Linked DNA regions of Homo sapiens: regions 1 and 2 are each linked to region 3. The links are contacts of gene promoters, found by promoter capture Hi-C in human tissues and cell types (Jung and others, 2019). All regions are on one chromosome and are shown on one strand. The core of a region is centred on a gene start or on the middle of the fragment in contact, and the rest is flanking DNA. Distances in the headings are between cores, read along the strand shown. Region 1 overlaps SLCO6A1 (solute carrier organic anion transporter family member 6A1). Region 2 has its middle 30 kb from the start of LINC00492. Region 3 holds the start of SLCO4C1 (solute carrier organic anion transporter family member 4C1).

The links. Contacts are between HindIII fragments. The study calls those that stand out against the background at their distance.
Region 1: a fragment that was not itself captured here is called in contact with the fragment with the promoter of SLCO4C1 in region 3 in 2 of the 25 tissues and cell types used here (neural progenitor cells and thymus).
Region 2: a fragment that was not itself captured here is called in contact with the fragment with the promoter of SLCO4C1 in region 3 in 1 of the 25 tissues and cell types used here (thymus).

The regions. Positions count from the first base shown.
Region 1 is chr5:102,429,603-102,434,249 of GRCh38, forward strand. The region is part of intron 7 of SLCO6A1 (solute carrier organic anion transporter family member 6A1); the gene reads right to left. Among named protein-coding and RNA genes, the nearest start is that of SLCO6A1, 67 kb to the right of the region's middle. The HindIII fragment of the contact is 4,050 bases long and covers 950-4,647 here.
Region 2 is chr5:102,549,401-102,553,493 of GRCh38, forward strand. No RefSeq gene overlaps it. Among named protein-coding and RNA genes, the nearest start is that of LINC00492, 30 kb to the right of the region's middle. The HindIII fragment of the contact is 5,071 bases long and covers 1-4,093 here.
Region 3 is chr5:102,294,232-102,298,619 of GRCh38, forward strand. SLCO4C1 (solute carrier organic anion transporter family member 4C1) reads right to left here and starts at 2,053. Exons shown (of 13, transcript NM_180991.5): 1 at 1,677-2,053. The coding sequence starts at 2,031. RefSeq lists an enhancer at 1,819-2,018. The HindIII fragment of the contact is 20,431 bases long and covers 1,454-4,388 here.

The sequences.
Region 1 (4,647 bases), core at 1,725-4,224, 140 kb after region 3:
CAGATGGTTGTAGGTGTGTGGCCTTACTTCTGGGCTGTCTATTCTGTTCCATTGGTCTATGTGTCTGTTTTTGTACCAGTATGATGCTGTTTTGGTTACTGTAGCCCCGTAGTATAGTCTGAAGTTGGGTAATGTGATGCCTCCAGCTTTGTTCTTTTTGCTTAGGATTGTCTTGGCTATTCGAGCTCTTTTTTGGATCCATATGAATTTTAAAATAGTTTTTATCTAGTTCTGTGAAGAATTGCATTGGTAGTTTAATAGGAATAGCACTGAATCTGTAAACTGCTTTGGGCAGTGTGGCCATTTTAAAGATATTGATTCTTCCTATTCATAAGCATGGAGTGTTTTCCCATTTGTTTGTGTCATCTCTTATTTCTTTGAGCAGTGTTTTGTAATTTATTGTAAAGATCTGTAAATTCCCGGGTTAGCTGCATTCCTAGGTATTTAAATCTTTTTGTGGAAACTGTGAATAGAATTGCATTTCTAATTTGGCTCTCAGCTGGCTGTTGTTGGTGTATAGAAATATTATTGATTTTTGTATGTTGATTTTGTATCCAGAAACTTTGCTGATGGCTGTTTCTCAGCTTAAGGAGCTTTTGGGCCAAGACTATGGGGTTTTCTAGATATAGAATCATGTTGTTTGCAAACAGGGATAGTTTGGCTTCCTCTCTTTTTATGTAGATGCCCTTCATTTCTTTCTCTTGTCTGATTGTTCTGGGCTGGACTTCTAATATTATGTTGAATAGGAATGGTGAGAGGGGGCATCCTTGTTCTGGTTTTCAAGGGGAATGCTTCCAGCTTTTCCCCATTCAGTATAATGTTGGCTGTGGGTTTGTCATAGATGGCTCTTATTATTTTTAGGTATGTTCCTTCAGTACCTAGTTTGTTGAGAGTTTTTAACATGAAGGGATGTTGAATTTTATTGAAAGTCATTTCTTCATCTATTCAGATGATCATGTGGTTTTCACTTTAGTTCTATTTATGTGATAAATCATGTTTATTGACGTGTGTATGTTTAACCAATCTTGCATTACAGGGATAAAACCTACTTGATCATGGTGGATTAGCTTTTGATGTACTGCTGGATTTATTTGCTAGTATGTATTGAAGATTTTTGCATGTATGTCCATCAAGGATATTGGCCTGAATTTTTGTTTTTTTGTTGGTCTCTTCCAGGTTTTGGTATCAGGATGATTCTGGCCTCATAGAATGAGATGGGCAGGAGTCTCCCCTCCTCAATTTGTTGGAATAGTTTTAGTAGTAATGACACCAGCTCTTCTTTGTACATTTGGTAGAGTTTGACTGTGAATCCATCTAATCCTGGGCTTTTTTTGGTTTGTAGGCTATTTATTGCTATTTCAGTTTTGGAGCTCATTATTAGTCTGTTCAGGAATTTAATTTCTTCCTAGATCAGTCTTGAGAGGCTTTATGTGTCCAGGAATTTATTCATTTTTTCTAGATTTTCTAGTTCATGTTTGTAAAGGTGCTCATAGTAGTCTCTGATTGTTATTTGTGTTTCTGTGGGGTCAGTGGTAATATCCTCCTTATCATTTCTAATTGTGTTTATTTGGATCTTCTCTCTTATTAATTTTTCAAAAAACCAACTCTTGGATTCATTGTTCCTTTGAATGTTTTTTTGTGTCTCCATCCCCTTCAGTTCAGCTCTGATTTTGGTTATTTCTTTTCCTCCTCTAGCTTTAGAATTGGTTTGCTGTTGCTTCTCTAGTTCTTTTTGTTGTGATGTTAGTTTTTAAATTGGGGTTTTTCTAACTTTTTGATGTGAGCATGTGGTGCTATACATTTCCCTCTTCATACTGCCTTAGCTATATCCCAGAGATTCTGGTGTTTTGTATCTCTGTTCTCATTCTGTCTTAATTTCATTACTTACCCAAAAGTCATTCAGGGTGGGTCATTTAATTTCCACTTAATTGTATGGTTCTGAGCAATTTAATTAGTCTTGATTTCTATTTTTATTGTGCTGGGGTCCAAGAGAGTGGTTGGTATGATTTCAGTTCTTTTACATTTTCTGAGGATTGTTATATATCTGATTTTGTGGTTGATTTTAGAGTATGTGCCATGTGGCAATGAGAAGAATGTATATTCTGTTGTTTTTTTGGTGAAGAGGTCTGTTGATGCCTCTCAGGTCTATTTGGTCTAGCATTGAGTTCAGGTCCTGAACATCTTTGTTAATTTTCTGCCTTGACAACCTTTCTAACACTTTCGGTGAGGTGTTGAAGTCTTCCACTATTAATTGGTGGGGGTCTAAGGCTCTTTGAAGGTCTCTAAGAATTTAATTTATAAATCTGGTTGTTTCTGTGTTGAATGCAGATATATTTAGGATAGTTAGGTCTTCTTGTTGAATTGAACCTTTCACCATTATGTAAAGCCCCTCTTTGTTTTTTACAATATTTGTTTATTTAAAGTCTGAAATTAGAATTGCAACCCCTTCAGTTTTTCATTCATTTTCCCCTTCAGTTTCCATTCGCTTGGTAGATTTTTCTTCATCTATTTTTGAGTCTATTGGTGTCATTGTATGTGAGACACATTTCTTGAAGACAGCATATCATTCGGTCTTGCTTTTCTATTCAGCTTGCCACTCTGTCTTTTCATTGGGGCATTTAACCCATTTACATTCAAGGTTACTATTGCTATATGTGGATTTGATCCTGTCATCATGTTGTTAGCTGTTTATTATGCTGACTTGTTTGTGTGATTGCTTTATAGTGTCAATGGTTTGCATACTTAAGTGCATTTTTGTAGTGGCTGGTAATGGTCTTTCCTTTCCATATTTAGTGCTTCTTTCAGGAGCTCTTGTAAGGCAGGTCTGGTGGTAAAAAATTCCCTCATAATTTTCTTGTTTGAAAATGATTTTATTTCTACTTCACTTATGAAGCTTAGTTTGGCTGGCTATGAATTTGATTGGAATTTCTTTTCTTTTAGAATGTTGAATATAGGCTCCCAGTCTCTTCTGGCTTGTAGGGTTTCTGCTGAGAAGTCTGCTGTTTCTGCTAAGAGGTCTAGCTTGTAGGGTTCCTGCTGATAGGTCTTCTAATAAGCTTTCCTTTGTAGATGGCCTGTCCTTTCTCTCTAGCTGCCTTTGACATTGTTTTTTCATTTTGAAGTTGGAGAATCCTATGATTATGTCTTAGGGATGATGTTTTTGTGAAGCACTTTGTGAGAGTTTCCTGCATTTTCTAAATTTGAATGTTGTCCTCTCTACATAGGTTGTGAAAGTTTTCATAGATGATATCCTGAAATATGTTTTCTAAGTTGCTTCCATCCTCCCTATCTCTTTCAGGGATGATAGTGAATTGTAGATTTGGTCTCTTTACATAATTGCATATTTTTGTTCATTTTGTTTGTTCCTTTTTATTCTTTTCTCTTTCATGTTTTCTTTCTGTCTTGTTTCAGAAACCCAATCTTCAAGCTCTGAGATTATTTCTTCAGCTTGATCTATCCTGCTGTTAATACTTGTGATTGCATTATGAAATTCTCATAGTGTGTTTTTATCTCTATCAAGTCAGTTATGTTCTTTTCTATACTGGCTACTTTATCTTCCAGATCCCGTATACTTTGTGATTCCTAGCTTCCTTAGAATGAGTTTCAACGTTCCCCTGAATCTTGATTTTTGTTCCTATCCATATTCTGAATTCTATTTCAGTCACTTCAGCCATCTAAGACTGGTTAAGGACCCTTGCTGGAGAACTAGTGAGGTTGTTTGAAGGAAAGAAGACCTTATGGCCTTTTGAATTGTCAGAGTTCTCGTGCTGCTTTTTTATCTTTGTGGGCTGATGCTCCTTTAATCCTTGAAGTTCCTGTCCTTTGGATTTTTTTTTCTTTTATCCTATTTGATGACCTTGAGGGTTTGCTTGTTGTATAAGGTGGGTTCATTCAACTGGCTTTGTTTCTGGAAGATTTTAGAAGGCAAAGGCTCAGCTCAGGACTCCTGGACTGTGTGGCCTAACTCCTGGGGACCAGTATTGGGCACTGGCTTTGTTCTCTGGCTCCTCAAGGTAGAAACATGCTGTGCTGGAGGGGTCAAGGTGCTCCTGGACTGCTGGTCACAACACTCCAATGGACGGTGGCAGCCAAAGCACTTTGTAGGGCAGTGGCAATGGGATCCATCCTGTTTGCACATACCAGCAACAGCAGCAGCGGCAGCATGGCAGAGTGCATGCTTTTTGGCTGTGGCAGGGTGCTGGCAGGTACTGGGGTGCTAGCCTCCATGGGGGAGCTAGTGAGGTTTTTTGAAGGAAAAAAGACATTCCAGCTTTTTGAGTTGTCGTAGTTCTTGTGTTCTTTAAAGGATACAATATTTAAAATTATTATAGTTGCACAAGCTTCTCTTTTGGTTAGCATTTGTATCTTTCGTCTATCCTTTCACTTTCAACCTTTTCATGTCCCCATATTTAAGGAGTGCCTCTTGTTAGTAACATATATTGAAATTTTTTTCCCAATCTGACATTCTTTAGACTATTTATATTTAACATAACTACTAATATATTTATTGGGTGAAAACTTTCTGTATATCTTGCAAGCAGAAGCACTGACTGCTCTTTGTTCTCCACTATCTTTTCAAGGATATTTATACGATGAGTAGCCTTGAATAATAAGGATAGTATTTCCACGTAGAGCACAGGACAACTT
Region 2 (4,093 bases), core at 336-2,835, 250 kb after region 3:
GTGCCCATCAACAGTGGATTAGATAAAAAACATGTGATACATACATAAAATGGAATACTATGCAGCCATACAAAATGCTAAATCATGTCCTTTGCGGCAACATGGATGTAGCTCTCCAGCTTAGCAGGCCATCATCCTAAGCTAATTCACATAGGAACAGAAAACCAATACCACGTGTTCTCACTTATAATCACTGTGATTATAGACTACTAATATCTAGTTTTAAGAAAACTGGCCAGGTGTGGTGGCTCACACCTGTAATCCCAGCACTTTGGGAATCTGAGGCTGGTGGATCACCTGAGGCCAGGAGTTCGAGACCATCCTGGCCAACGTGGTGAAATCCCGACTATACTAAAAATAGAAAAATTAGCTGGGCGTGGTGGCAAGCACCTGTAATCCCAGCTACTAGGGAGACTGAGGTGGGAGGATTGCTTGAACCTGGGAGGCAGAGGTTGCAGTGAGCTGAGATCATGCCAGCCTGGGTGACAGTGAGACTCTGCCAAAAAGAAAGGAAAGAAAGGAGAGAGAGAGAGAGAGAGAGACTAATATTTGTGAATAGCTAAACTGGCCTAGGTCAATCACCTTAGATTACTTACATCAGTTAAATTTGCTCAGGTCACTTAGTGAATGAGCAGAGACTGAAATTATTTCATCTTTTTATTGAGTACACAGCTAGTCTATTTGTATGGCCATGTGACTGAATTTGGCTGATGGAAGATAAATGCATGTGATATATGCAACATTCAGGCTTGGCTCACTAAAACCTCCCACCTAATTCCATGTTTTCTTTGCTTTGTGTCTTCCAGCTACCAGAAGACTCTGATGTAGGGGATGACAGAGCCAACAGATGCCTCCCTCAACCTAGTGATTTACATCCATCACATAATCAAGAAATAAGCTGTATTAGTCCATTTTCACACTGCTATAAGAACTACCTGGGACTGGGTAATTTATAAAGAGAAGAGGTTTAATTGACTCACAGTTCTGCATGGCTGGGGAGGCCTCAGGAAACTTACAATCATGGCAGAAGGAGAAGCAGGCACATCTTACATGGTGGCAGGCAAGAGAAAGCAAGCAAGAGCAGAGAAAACCGCTTTATAAAACCATCAGATCTCATGATAACTCACTCACCATCACAAGAACAGCATGGGAAAAGCCACCACCATGATCCAGCCACTTCCCACCTGGTCCCTCCCTTGACACGTGGAGATTATGGGGATCATAATTTGAGATGAGATTTGGGTAGGGACACAGAGTTAAATCATATCACAAGCTTTTGTTGTATTAAGTAACTGAAATTTTAGGATTTTCTATTTATATCACTTACCCTACCTTGATTAATATAGTCAATTTTGCATCACTTAAGAATCATAAGCTTTTACCTACTCTGATTTACAAACAAATCTTGGTAAATCAATATGTATTAATGTGCTATTTTACATACAAGATTGATCAAATTTACACATTTAATAAATGCCAGGTTCAAAATTTGTACCCAAGTTTTTCTGATTCCAAATCCCCACATTCTTTTTACTGCCCCACATCACACAACTCCCATACTTATTTCAATGGAAGAAGAATTGAAAAGTGAGTTAAGTGTTGATTTTTGCCAAACTAAGATAACTAGAAAGATTTTCTAGTTTTCAGCATTAAGCTCTGAATAATAAGCCACCTAAAAATAAAATGCAATCTTTAACAGAGCTGCACATCTGTGAATTAAAAGCACCAATTTTTCTATTCTCTTCACATTAACACAATTCAGTATTTATAGTCTCATATTTGGTTTACTTCTATCATATAAAACCAGATAATAGCCAGTAATGAAACGTCATTTTCATAGCTCTGAAGCAAACAGCAAATATCTCTATTTTCAATATTTTATGCTTATGATATTTAGCAGAGGCTATTTCATTCATTAAAGGGTACTCATGTATTAACATAAAACAAAGTAAGGAGTACCACTCTCTCTTTCCATGTAGATGCAATATAGCAAATCCATTAAAATGAGTGATTTTTCTCCTTTAGCTTCTTATGAACATTTTATAGTCATTAGCACATACTCTGAGTGCATTGAATATTCTCTTCAATACATCTCTTTTCCTTGAGGTATACTATATTATTAACAATGGTAAAACATCTTTTTTTCTGTTCTCTTCTTTTTTAAAAAAATTTTTTAAATTATACTTTAAGTTCTTGGATACATGTGCAGAACGCGCAGGTTTGTTACATAGGTATACACGTGCCGTGGTGGTTTGCTGCACCCATTAACCTGTCATCTACATTAAGTATTTCTCCTAGTGCTATCCTTCCCCTAGGCCCCACGCCCTAACAGGCCCTGGTGTTTGATGTTCCCCTCCCTGTGTCCATGTGTTCTCATTGTTCAACTCCCACTTATGAGTGAGAACATGCAGTGTTTGGTTTTCTGTTCTTGTGTTAGTTTGCTGAGAATGATGGTTTCCAGTTTCATCCATGCCCCTGCAAAGGACATGAACTCATCCTCTTTTATGGCTGCATAGTATTCCATGGTGTATATGTTCCATATTTCTTTTATCCAGTCTATCATTGATGCACATTTGAGATGGTTCCAAGTCTTTGGTATTGTGAACAGTACTGCAGTAAACATATGTGTCCATGTGTCTTTATAGTAGAATGATTTATAATCCCTTAGGTATGTACCCAGTAATGGGATTGCTGGGTTAAATGGTATTTCCAGTTCTAGATCCCTGAGGAATTGCCACACTGTCTTCCACAATGGCTGAACTAATGTACACTCCCACCGACAGTGTAAAAGCATTGCTATTTCTCCACATTCTCTCCAGCATCTGTTGTTTTCTGACTTTTTAATGATCACCATTTTAACTGGCATGAGATGGTATCTTATCGTAGTTTAGATTTGCATTTCTGTAATGACCAGTGATGATGAGCTTTTTTCATATATATGTTGGCCGCATGAATGTCTTCTTTTGAGAACTGTCTGTTTATATCTTTCGCCCACTTTTTTATGGGGTTGTTTTTTTTCTTGTAAATGTGTTTAAGTTCTTTGTAGATTCTGGATATTAGCCCTTTGTCAGATGGATAGATTGCACAAATTTTCTCCCATTCTGTAGGTTGCCTGTTCACTCTGATGATAGTTTCTTCTGCTGTGGAGAAGCTCTTTAGTTTACTTAGATCTAATTTGTCAATTTTGGCTTTTGTTGCCATTGCTTTTGGTGTTTTAGTCATGAAGGCTTTGCTCATGCCTATGTCCTGAATGGTATTGCTTAGGTTTTCTTCTGGGGTTTTTATGGTTTTAGGTCTTATTTTTAAGTCTTTAATCCATCTTGAGTTAATTTTTGTATATGGTGTAAAAAAGGGGTCCGGTTTCTGTTTTCTGCATATGGCCAGTCAGTTTTCTGTTATTTGCCTTTTTATATATTGTCCAAATTTAAATTAACATGATCAAAAAATGCCCACACTTTGTCCAGAGAGATGGCTATCTCACACAATCCAGAGAGAACATGAAATGATTACAATTCTCAGGAGTATGTTTTATCCATTTGGATTTACTGCTTTAAAATATGCATATTTTGGTTGCATCAACTCTGTTTCTAAAATTTATTCTAAGAAAATGATAATCTATATACCCAGTGATTTAGCCTCAATTTTATTCATTGCAGCAATTATGTTTTTGTTACATATAACCCTCTTGGTCATTTAAAAGGAACCTAAAAGACAACATAATAACTAAACATATGTAAACTTTATTTGTAGGACGTGAACTGTATGTTTTATTTTCTTCATTTATATTCCTTCATTGGGGATATAACTTGAATTTTGCCATAGTTTAGACAATCTAGAATTACTTAAATAAAACAAGGACTACTATACTTTCCTCTTTGTCTTAATACCCCAATTAAAAACAGAAGAAAACATTTTTCAAATTTTTGATATTACATAGTGCACATTCTAAAATTTATTCTAGTTTGAAAAAATGTGCCATTGACCATAGAAGGTATTCAATGATTAAACATATTTCTCTGAAACAGATATCAAGTATGCTAATCTAGTTTAACCTCTTAACCTGCAGAACACCTCTAAATCAGTACTTAATATT
Region 3 (4,388 bases), core at 803-3,302:
AGACGGGTTTCACCATGTTGGCCAGGCTGGTATCCAAGTTCTGACCTCAACTGATCCGCCCGCCTCGGCCTCCCAAAGTGCTGGGATTACAGGCGTGAGCCACCATGCCCAGCCTATTGGGTCACTATTATCTCAGATTAAGCTTCTTAAATTGGGGACCTCTGGGTAGATGCTGCTCCAGACTAAACCTGACAAATTTTCTAGGAGTGACAATTACATTTGATAACAATTTTAGGCAATATTTTATATTAAATATAAAATGTTATATTTTGGAATAATATAGAAATTTCAGAGGAATTTTAAGATAATACACAAGATAAGACATTTTTTACTTGTGTCCAACTTTTTTATCTTCGCATTCCTTTGACACTGAGATGCTTCACAATTACCAATTTTGTAAAACTATGATCAAGACATTAATGGAGGGGAACTTTGGTAGGGACAAGAAAAGTGGACAGGGAAATAATTCTTCAACACAAATCTACCTTCAGTAGAAGAGCTGCAGCGGACTTGCAATCAATAAATGGTTACTTAGCATCTAATGCGCAAAGCAAGGGGCCCTGGGTTCCTTGAAGAGGAAGAATAAGAACAAAAAGTATACTTAGGCTTTGACTTAGTTTTCTATTAACTTAAAAAATGAGCTGTTTCCAACCCTCTAAAATCTATATTTCTAAGGTTGTATTTCTTCCAATTAATCCTTGACTGATTATACAGAAAATATTCTCGGACTATGACTCAAGTGACCAAAAAATATCTACATTCCAATTCAGCTAAGCTTCGGCATGTCCTTCTTGACTCCTCTCCACCTCTTCTCCACCCTTCCTCAAAGTCAACTCAGGTTAACTTCCTATTTTCCTTCAACCTCTGTATTGAACACACCAGAAGCAGCTTTAACCTTCCCTGTGCCTTCTTTCAAGGGAGCTGTTCTCCCTCCAGGATATCACTCCTCCAAACTGAGCTTAGATTGCAAGCCCCTGAGGGTATAAATCTGAACTGAATCTGTAACTCCCAAGAGAACCTAAAAGAGATCCTAGAACAAAACAGATGCTGGATAACTAATGTAACACAATGAAGATTAAGGCTCAACAACGTCGGGAGCCTTTGCTAATTTACTCACTGGGCTCCTCTGGTGACCACATACTCTCAAACTAAATACACTCACAAAACATGAATGTCTGTATCTAATTTATACGATAGATTTTTCATAGCTTTCTTCCTTGTAAGGCATCCCACTCCCACCTGCAAACGTATTACTCCTTCCCCTGAGGCAATGAAACAAATGTAAAAGTAAAATACCTTTAAAGAGTGCCTAGGTAAATTTTTGTCTTTATAATGTAAAATAAACTCCCCAGGGTATACCTTTCCCAAAGGAAGGTTCTTGTAATCTTCCCTGTAAGTCTTGAATCCGCTAAACTGAGGTAAAACACAAAAGAGAAAAAGGCTTGTATTGCAAGTTTGAACTGTAGTGATAAAGGAGAAGCTGAACTTTGGAAGGCTGGCTGGGGGCCGGTAGGTTGACCTTGGTGAGAGCGCAAGCAAGTTCCAAACCCGGGGCCACCTTGCAGGGCGCGTCCACCGTCCCACGGACCCCGCGCACCTGCCCTCTCCCCCGGCTGGCTCGCCGTGCCCACCTCGCTCTCCACTGGCCCGAGCCTCAAGCGGGCGCTGGACTTTACCTTGCGTGACGGCCAAGAGGCAGTAGTGAAGCAGAAAGCCTCCAGGTGTGTTGCAGCGCTGGAGACATTGAGGATGGAAGTTCCTCCAGCCGTAAGACCCCTCCTCAAACTCGGACAGCGACAGTGACCGGAGCTTCTCTTCGGAGACATTGGGAGGGGCTGAAGGCAGAGATGGCTCTGGTGACTTCTGGGGCTCCTGGGGCTTCTGAAGCTCCTGTGGCTGAGAATTCTCTCTTTGGGGGTCAGAGGACAAGGCAGAGACTTCGATTTGGGAGGGCGACGCAGACAAGCGGCGCAGGATGTCTGGGCTGGAGGGGACAAAAGCCAAGTTCTCAATACCTTTGGCGCTCTTCATGTCTGGATGGGTTCTCCCGACTCCGGTGCTTCAGAGCAGCAGAGCCAGGTCCCTCTCTGGCTCCTCCCACAGGCAGGTGACAGCGCCCCCGTGCGGGAAGCTTCCCGCCTCCTGGCCCTCCAGCCTCCAGCGCACTCTCCGCCACCGCCTGAACCTTCCTACTCCAGCTCGCAGCTGTCTGGAGCGCAGAGCGCTGAGCGGGGGCGTTAGCGCCCCAGCCTGTGGCTTTGGCGCTCAGCTGTGCCTCACCCGTCGCCTCAAGGACCAACCGGAAGGCGCGGCGTGGGCGTGCCACCCGGCGGCGGCCGAGTAGAGGGGGCGAGAGTTCTCACCCCACAGCCTTCGACCGGAGTCCGCCTCCGCCCAAGCCCCTGCGGTTCTGACCTGAGCCTTCAGCCCGCAGCGCGCCTCCCTTGAGCCCAAGCACTGGGAACACACAGAGACTGTGGGAGTCTCTGGCCATAAGCTCCCCTTGGGTGCTGACATGAAACCTGTAAACAGTTGCATCAGGAGATTGTTCAGGAAACTATCTTGCGTTTTCTTCCTTTGCTGCTTACCAAAGCAGTCTAGGCTTGGACTCCAAGAATCAAGACGTCAGAGGTATACTTTGGTTCATGAGCATCTTGATAAGACTCTTGCCTGTCATCCTGTTACTGGTAGAAGGTGTCCAGGTTCTTGGCATCTTGAAGAAAGAATTGAAGAAAACGCACAAACAAAGCAAGGAAGGAATGAAGGGGTTTATTGAAAATGAAAGTACACTCCACAGTGTGGGAACGGGCGAGCATAGGGGCTCAAAGGCCCGGTTACAGAATTTTGGGGAGTTTAAATACCCCCTAGAGGATTCCATTGGTTACTTTGGGTATGCCCTATGTAAAGGGAGAAGATGAAGTAAAGTTACAAAGTCATTTATGGCCTACGCCCTATGGAGAGGATATTTCCTGTTACAGCTGAAGTGTGAATAGGCCTTATGTTTCCTGCCTCCAGACCCTATTTTCCTGCCTCAGTCCTCCTTAGAAAAAGAAATCCACCCCACCCCACCCCCATCACCACCAGGATGAACATCACAGCATAACCACTGCTTTGCTTTTCCTTCTCCGAAACTGAAGGACCAGAAATTGTCTCTCTGCTGTATATTGCATATGTAAGATATACAGTGATGACAATCATGTAAATAATTTCTACCGGGCCAGGCGCGGTGGCTCACGCCTGTAATCCTAGCACTTTGGGAGGCTGAGGCGGGTGGATTACCTGAGGTCAGGAGTTCAAGATTAGCCTGGCCAACATGGTGAAACACTGTCTTTACTAAAAATACAAAAATTAGCCAGGTGTGGTGGTGCAGGCCTGTAATCCCAGCTACTTGGGAGGCTGAGGCAGGAGAATCATTTGAACTCGGAAGGTGGAGGGTACAGTGAACCGAGATTGTGCCACTTCAATCCAGTCTGGGTGAAAGAGTGAAACTCTGTCTCTTAATAATAATAATAATAATAATAATACATGTCTAACTGTGGAATAAATAAGAAAAACACTTCGAAGAGCTTAACACCATTGTGTCATGGTAGGTACAATTTAGTCATTCATTCTTTCACTTAACACAGACACAAAAAATTCTTGTGTCCTAGGTGCCAAACATTGTTCTAAGTTCTGGGGGTACACAAGTGAACAAAGACTGGCAAATACCCCTACCCTTATGGTGCTTATGTTTTAATAGGAAACAGACAGTAATAATACATAGTACATGGCACATAATATGATAAATACTATTTTGTGAAACTTTTGTTTCAATTATATATGCTGTGTTTACTGGGTTGAGAGACAGATATAAAATATGTATCTTACTTTGGACAGAGGTACATTCTGTTACCTGTTTCCTCACAATCGAGAAAACTCTAGACTGGCCAGCCGGGCGCAGAGGTGCAGGCCTGTAATCCCAGTACTTTGGGAGGCCAAGGTGGGTGCCTTGAGTCCAGGAGTTTGAGACCAGCCTGGGCAACACGACAAAACCCTGTCTCTACCAAAAATGCAAAACTTAGCCTGGCATGGTGGTGCACGCCTGTAGTTCCAGATACTTGGGAGGCTGAGGTGGGAGGGTCGCTTACAACCTGGGAGGGTGAGGTTGCAATGAGTACTCCAGCTGTGCCATAGAGCCAGACCTTGTCTCAAAAAAATAAGAATTAAAAATAAAAATAAATTCTAGATTGGCCTAAAACATGGGGAAAGAGTAGAAGTAGGAGCTAACATTTAAAATGTCTGCTATATGCCCCATTATTAAAATCTTTACAAAAGCAGCTGCACTGTTATATATAGTTTACATATTGAGGAAACCATATCCCATAAAGAATTAGTAACTGTCCCAAAGT